Regions from separate parts of the Homo sapiens genome. Here region 1 is linked to region 2. Evidence: promoter capture Hi-C in 16 types of primary human blood cells and fetal thymus (Javierre and others, 2016). All regions are on one chromosome and are shown on one strand. Each heading gives the region's core, a stretch centred on a gene start or on the middle of the fragment in contact. The rest is flanking DNA. Distances are from core to core; before and after follow the strand shown. Region 1 holds the start of TCHHL1 (trichohyalin like 1). Region 2 holds the start of S100A7A (S100 calcium binding protein A7A).

Evidence for each region. Contacts are between HindIII fragments. The CHiCAGO score rates a contact against its expected background, and 5 or more counts as called.
Region 1: the fragment with the promoter of TCHHL1 here is called in contact with the fragment with the promoter of S100A7A in region 2 in 1 of 17 cell types (M0 macrophages); the score reaches 5.1 in M0 macrophages.

Annotation. Positions count from the first base shown.
Region 1 is chr1:152,086,686-152,090,541 of GRCh38, reverse strand. TCHHL1 (trichohyalin like 1) reads left to right here and starts at 1,478. Exons shown (of 3, transcript NM_001008536.2): 1 at 1,478-1,522; 2 at 2,379-2,536; 3 at 2,999-3,856. The coding sequence starts at 2,399. The HindIII fragment of the contact is 6,885 bases long and covers 1-1,935 here.
Region 2 is chr1:153,414,634-153,418,567 of GRCh38, reverse strand. S100A7A (S100 calcium binding protein A7A) reads right to left here and starts at 2,048. Exons shown (of 3, transcript NM_176823.4): 1 at 2,005-2,048; 2 at 345-502. The coding sequence starts at 485. It also overlaps a transcript of S100A8 not described here. The HindIII fragment of the contact is 2,279 bases long and covers 1,507-3,785 here.

The sequences.
Region 1 (3,856 bases), core at 229-2,728, 1.3 Mb after region 2:
AGGATAATAACTACCTAAAAGGGCTGTGAGGATTAAGATAGCCCATGTAAAGCTCCTGACATGTCATAAGTTTTCAATAAACATTAATTCTTTTCTCTTCCACACCCATAAAAATCCTTCAAGTATTTGAAGACAGTTATTATGTCTCCCATAAGTGTTTCTTTCCAATCCAGCCTTGAATATACCCAGTTCTTCATGAGACTGGCCCATGAGCTCCAGAGCAGGAAGATATAACTTACTCAACTCTAAACACTCCAGTTCCTGGCATAGTGTTGAGAAATAGCTGGTACTCTGGGGATATTAACTAATCAGAACTAAGATGACCTTCACATGCCAATTCCAATTCCCAGAAGTCTTCTCCCTTTGGGAGGATGCTGAGAAATTGTTTGTAGGTGTAAAGTATCAGTATGAATGTTTTTCCCCAAAATTTAGTTCCCTTGTATGTTCCTCGATAATCAGGAAATTCAGAATAAGGTTTTTGCTCAATAGCAATGCATCCCTTAGCTTCAGCTTTCTCATATAATTACCCCCATTCCCACCCCATCTTTAACTTGGTCTGTGTCTTTTATATTTGTTTGCATTGATCTGTCTATTTCTTCCATCCTTTGACAAGGAGTGTTTTAAAACATACTCTATTTTTTAAAAATATCTAAGAAAACCATTGAATCTAATTCTTATTTTATTAAATATTCTCTACTAAGAAGGACCCAGATCTAGGAGACAATTAAAATGTTTGCCAGTTCAGCATCTCAGACTCACTTCTGTTCTCAGCTTGATGATTTCAACATCTCCCTTTCCCCTTTACAGGGAGAACACAGTAATATAGATTATTGGTTTCAAGCTCCTTGTATAGTAAAAATGTCTTTAGAAAGCAAATATCAATCACGTTTTTAAAATAGCACAACATAGGTAAGCAAGGCTTTGCACACCAAGCAAGAATTTTTTTTTTTTTCTAACTCTGCCTCTGGGCAAGGAGAGCAAAGCATTGAAACATCTGAATCAACTGGTATCTCCACTTTTGTCACATGGCTAAATGGGGGCCTTTATTTTTAAACACATGATTGACACCCATCTCTCAGGTTTGGGTCAAATACGGGCCATCTTGTGGGCAGACAGAGGAATCAGATGACTTATGAGGTCCCTGCCAGCACTATGATTTGTCAGACAGAAATGTAATTATGTCCTTAGGTTAAAAAATGGGGGAGGGAAGCCAACACTACCTTGAAGAGCCTTCAAAACTATAATCTGCAAAAGTCAGTAAATGAATCAAGAAACCCCCTCCCCTTTCTTTTGATGCATCTGAAGCTAAGATTTAATTGAAACTGCCTAAAGAAGGAAATAAAATTAAGACAACTGACAACAGAGCAGGGGAGACTGGATTTGGTGGTGATGTCAGGTCATTAGACCCAGAGGGTGTCTCCTTCTTAACTGTGCAATTAGGACCTCAATAAAAGGTTCCAGCTCCTGCTGTCAGCTCACAGCCCGCTGCCCCACGTTCTACCTGCTCTCGCTTGTGAACTAGGTAAGTCCATCTGCTTGAGCATACTTGGGATTTCAGTTGCTGTTTTGCTTATATGTGAGATTGCAAGAGGATTTCAAAGGAAACACACTTTAAGTCTATGTCAACCCCTATTAATAATAATAAACTGGGAGCGCCAACCACCCAAATGCATTCCTTGATTATGGAACTTCTTTGATCATTTTCTTTTTAAAAAAAACATAAATTGTTTAGAAGTCATAGGCATGAATATTATTCAACAAGGCACAGGATCAGATCTCTATTGCAATGAAAATGTAGAAGCATTTAAAGGATGGGAAATGAATGAATAAGGGGTCGGGACATGGAATCATGTCTTCTTGGTTAAAGCATGTTGTTACCACCTGCAAACATAGGGGTTAATTTTCTTGGTGTGACTTATCTTTCCACTAGAAGCTTTGCTAACTTTAAAGGTTATACCCTCCTAACCGCAGGAGGCTAGACTGAGCCAAAGGGAGAGGAGAGCAGATAGACACTCTTGGATGAGGCTGGAAGAATGGGTCCAACTCTATTGGCTTCATTTATGCATTTCAATCCTTATGCTTGAGTTCTCTTATCACCTTCCTTTTGCAATGAAGCTTTCTCTGAGCACATGAATGTTGCTGTTTACTGAAGAGTGGGGTGAATTGTCTCTTCTAATACTTACCTATGCTGGGTCTGATTTCACCACAATGTCTGGTACAATACTAAATCACCCCTGGAGTTCAGATATAATATTTTAAGATACAGAATAGAGCAGGGGTTGCAGTGGAGATGGGGGAGGAACAAAAAGGATAATCTTGGTATCTCCTCCCTGAAGGACCCATCCTGGAAAATGAGCTTTGTTTATTCTTTCTCACAGCCTCTCCTGAGTTTGTAAAGATGCCTCAGCTCCTGAGAAATGTCCTCTGTGTAATTGAGACATTCCACAAATATGCCAGTGAGGACAGTAACGGGGCAACACTGACTGGCAGAGAGCTGAAACAACTCATCCAGGGCGAGTTTGGGGACTTTTTTCAGGTGAGCTTCTCACAGAGCTGTGTAAATTCTTTCCAACTCACCCTTTCTTTATAATCCAAGCAAGATGAGCATATGTGATCCCCATCCATTTTACACCTAGCTAACAGTTCTCAGCACTCACTGTCTCTTGAACAACTATTTTCAGTCTCAGTTCCATACTCTGTGCAATTACTTAGAGAAAAAGAGGTTTTCGTCACTGGGATTATTGCTTCTGCAAAGCTGACTTCTGAAAGGAGTCATAAACCATTATGCATCAAAATGCAACTCACAAGTGTTGTAAATGCTCTTTCTCAGGCATAGCTCTCTGATGAAAAATGGCTTGCAGAACCAATAAGTTCTTGCTGTTCTGGGAAAGTTAACCAGTTACTGAGGAATGAGGTCAGAAAAATAGGATTCTTGGGAGACACTTAGGACACTGGACCACATATAAATAAGCTGATTTCTCACTGTGTTTTCATGCAGCCCTGTGTCCTTCATGCTGTGGAAAAAAATTCAAATCTTCTGAATATTGACAGTAATGGCATCATCAGTTTTGATGAATTTGTTCTTGCAATCTTCAACTTGTTGAACCTCTGTTATCTTGACATAAAATCATTACTAAGTTCTGAACTAAGACAGGTGACTAAACCAGAGAAGGAGAAGCTAGATGATGTGGATGTTCAGGCAACCACCGGAGATGGTCAGTGGACAGTGGGAACTTCACCAACTCAAGAAAAGAGGATGCTTCCTTCAGGAATGGCATCATCATCTCAGCTCATCCCTGAAGAAAGTGGAGCAGTTGGAAATAACAGAGTGGACCCATGGAGAGAAGCCAAGACTCACAACTTTCCAGGAGAAGCATCTGAACACAATGATCCTAAGAACAAACACCTGGAAGGAGATGAACAAAGTCAGGAAGTGGCTCAAGATATACAAACAACAGAAGACAATGAAGGCCAACTTAAGACAAATAAGCCAATGGCAGGATCAAAAAAGACCAGCAGTCCCACAGAGAGGAAGGGACAAGATAAGGAGATCTCCCAGGAAGGAGATGAACCAGCCAGAGAGCAAAGTGTTTCCAAGATAAGAGACCAGTTTGGAGAACAGGAAGGAAACTTGGCAACCCAAAGTTCACCACCAAAAGAAGCAACACAAAGACCATGTGAAGATCAGGAAGTTAGAACAGAAAAGGAAAAACACTCTAATATACAAGAACCACCCCTACAAAGAGAAGATGAGCCCAGTTCACAGCATGCTGACCTGCCAGAACAAGCTGCTGCCAGGTCACCATCTCAGACACAGAAATCAACTGATTCCAAGGATGTCTGTAGAATGTTTGAC
Region 2 (3,934 bases), core at 799-3,298:
ATGTTGATGTGGGGCCTTTGGGAAGCAGGACCTGAGCATGTGAGTTTCAGTCTCACAGAGAGAGGGTCAGTGAGCGCTGGGAGGGGACTGTGCACTGTCCTCAAGCTGCACACTTTGCTGACCATCTAATAACCTCCTTTATATCTGTATAACTCTTTCCCATTTTCATACTTTTTCGCCTACCATCCTTAGATTCACATATGATCCAAGCAATAAAGCCCTATTTGCAAATGGGAAACTTTTTAATCAGAGGATGAGGGTGACCTGTCCAAGGCCACATAGCAAAATGTATCCTCAGCCATGCCAGGGTCCAACCAACATTGAGAAGCTAGACCCCAACTCACACAGGCACTGAGGAAATTGGGGAAGTTCTCCTTCATCATCGTCAGCAGGCTTGGCTTCTCAATCTTGCCATCACGTCCGGTGTATTTGTGAAACATGTCGATCATGCCTATTATGGACCTCTCAGCTTGAGTGTTGCTCATCTTTGCTTTCAAAAAGCCTTCAGGAAATAAAGACAATCATTTCTTACCTTAGTTTGAATTAAGGTCTCTATGTGGGGGTGTTAGAAGGAGGGCTGAGGACAGAGTAAAAACAGCCCTAAGATGGAGCAGAAGGAACTTGATTTTTTTAAATGTGATGGGATAAGTTGTTCAAAAATGAGAGGGTAGGACCAAGTCTGAGACCCGGCCCATCCTGGCCAGGGCCAAGAAGAGATGCAGGTGGATGGCAGAAGTCCAGCTGTGGACAGTGCTTCAGAGAAGGAGAAGCAGGGAGAGTCGGAGGCCAGCAACACATAGAAGAACTAAGCTGGGACCCCCCAGCCTCAACCAGCACATGGCGGACCCCACTCTTGAAACAGCACCAAATCCATCTCCTCCAGCTTCACAGTCGGGGTGAGAGTCACGGGGGCAGGACAATGGCCTTGGTGATCTGGTGTCTGACCCTCCTCGGCTGCTTCAGGAACCAGACACCGTGGGCCCCACCTTGACTCAAGTGCAAGCCCTGCATGACACAGTGCGTGCAGGCTCCAGGTGCACATGTGAGCGTGGACATGAGTGTGAGCAGGAAACACAGCCCTCTCCCGAGGACAGGGGGCCCTTCCTACATTCCCTTGGGAATGAGAAACAAGAATTGCCTCTGTTACAAGGAACAGAAATAACTCCCTGGTTCTTAAGCTGCTGGATGGGGTGGGAGTGAGGTGGGAGTCGCTTCATGTCTGCTCTTGGGAAATATCTGCACCCTCTGAATCACCAAGGGTTGACCCTGTTTAAATAAAAATGTCTGACTTTCCAAAGCAGATCTTCCAGCCAGTAGCCAGCCTGGGCTGCCCTGCACCCCAAGCCTGAAAAATAAGACAGTGCAGCTCTCATTTCTACACTTTCCAAAGAACCAGAAAAGGACCTTGGCTAACGCATGTGGGCATCTGACAATAAACCCCCAACACCTCTCAACGCAGGAGAAAGCTCCGTGCCAGCAACTGACTAAGAGAAGCCACTCAAAGCTTTCTGAATCTGAGGCCAAGGCCAAGGCCAGAGGCCAAGCCCTGTGCCCAGAGATTGACTGAGAATTTACAGGTCCAAGGCCTGGGGGTTTGGAGAGCCTCCAAAGCATTCACAGGGGATCCTTATCCCTCCTCCCTCTGTGGGGGCAGAGCTGGGGAGGGGATTCAGCAACTGGGATCCCAAAAGGAGAATGAATCCAGGGAGGAAGAAGACAGGAAGGAAAGGGAGGGTCCTGTGCTCAGGTCCCACTGGGGACATTTCCACAGGAGTTGTCTCAGGAGATCCCAAAGGAGCAATGGACAGGTCTGGTTCAGCCACCTGGTTGTACAGACGTGGGCTTTTGGGGTCAAGTGAAGGTCACACAGCCCAGCTAATGGCAGAGCTGGCCTAGACCCAGGCTTCTGAGACTTTGTCCACAGCCCTTTCCCTTCCTACAGGCAGCATGGCAGGCTGGGCACTGGGCACTTCTAGAAAATGCAAAGAGGCAGGTGAGACTTACCAGAACTGGGAAGTGTCACGAGTAGAAGGATGAGTGAGATGTGTGTGTTTGGACAAAGAGCAGTCCTTTATAAGGCTCAGCCTGGCTCTTCCCACGGGTTGGGAGGCCTGGGGCCACCTCTGTCATCTGTTTCTTGGAGGCTTGTCCCATATCAGGTGTGTGGGACACACCCAGGAGGCTGTGCTCAGGATTTCTGGCCAGGGTCCCAGGTCACCAGGTCCCACCCCACCCCAGAGACCTCACCTGGGGCCTTCTCTGGCTCAATCTTGATTTGAGGGTAAGGCAGCGGTACATGTGTAGTAACAGGTCAGGAAATGGGAGAAAAGAGCACTGGGCCTCTGGACCCAAAGAGAATGGAGTTTCAGACTCCCAAAGGCAGCATGGTCTTGTTTATTCCCTCCCCCAGTACTTCCACACATTTGTTGTGACAGCCTGTTCTATGACCCCCACCGCTTACTGAGCGTTTTAATGTCTAGACATCAAGACACCTGCTGCTCTTGCATCCTCCTCAACCCTCCCCTCATAGTCTTAAGAAGCAGGTGCTGCAATCTCTATTTTAGGAAAGGAGAAGTTGAGATGTTCCCAAGTTTACTCAGCTAGTAAACACAACAAATCATCACACGAACAAAGAAAAGCCTGAATCAAATCCTTACTCTTATCCCCTGTGCTATAGGTCTTGGGTTGCATCAGGGTCTGCCCTATGGGAACTCAAAGTCCAGGGAGGGAAGCAGGATTACTTCATTGCTAACCATTGGTCAGCCCCTCACAGAAGCCCTGGATTTAGGTGGGGGGACTGGGGTCAGGGGCCTCACTATCTAGGTTGAGTGGTGGAGTGACCCCCGCCCCCCCCGCCCCATGGAATGAGCCTGGAGGTAGGGAGTGGGAAAAGTTCTTTCCTGCCCCATGGCACTAACTTCCCAGAAAGTCTTCAGTGTTTTTCCTCCTCCTATGCAAAACAGCCTGTGTAGGAGTTGGGAGTTGTGCCCTTGGCTATAATGTGCCCTAACCTGCTGTGGAAAGCCTGAACCAGGTAGGGGCAAGAGGGTTGGGAAGGCACAGGAGTCCCTGGGGCATGGTGAGGAAAAGGAGATGATGAATCACTGAAATGGACTTTTTCTGCTACCCCCTTACAATGTTCCTTGTAGGCCGCAAGAGGTCCTGGTTCATTTAGTGCCAGCCCTTTAAGCACTCTGGGGCTCCATAGAGCTGATGTGATGTCTCCCTAGGTGGGACCTATTTTCTCCACCCATCATCTTTCTTCAACTTCCTTCTCTGTCAGTTCTTATGTAACCAGGGGGACCTGTTTCTCCCTCTCCCAGTTTCCCATATGACGGCAATATTACTTTTAGCGGCAAAAGATACACACACACACACACACGCACACACACACAAACACACACACAAACGCACACATACACACACACACAGACGAATACTACTCAACCATAAAAAGAATGAAATGATGACTTTTGCAGCAACATGGATGGAACTGGAGGCTATTATCTTAAGTGAAATTACTCAGAAAAAGAAAGTCAAACACTGTGCACCCTCATGTGTAAGTGGGAGGTACATCATGCATACAGATGGAGGTAGAGAGAGAGTAGAATCATAGACACTGGAGACAGTGAAGAGCAGGAGGTCAGGTGGTGGGTGAAGGAGGAGACATTTCTTAGTGGGTACAATGCGTGTTATTTAGGATGGCTGCATTAAAAGCCCGGACTTCACCACTGTGCAATGTGTTCATATACATGTGTATGCAGGTTTTTGTGTGGACATAAGCTTTCAGTTCTTTTGGGTAAATCCCGAAGAGTGTGATTTCTGGATCCTATGGTAAGAGTATGTTTAGTTTTTTAAGAAAGCACCAAACTGTCTTCCCAAGTGGCTGTACTATTTTGTGTTCCTGCCATCAATGAATGAGAGTTCCTGTTGC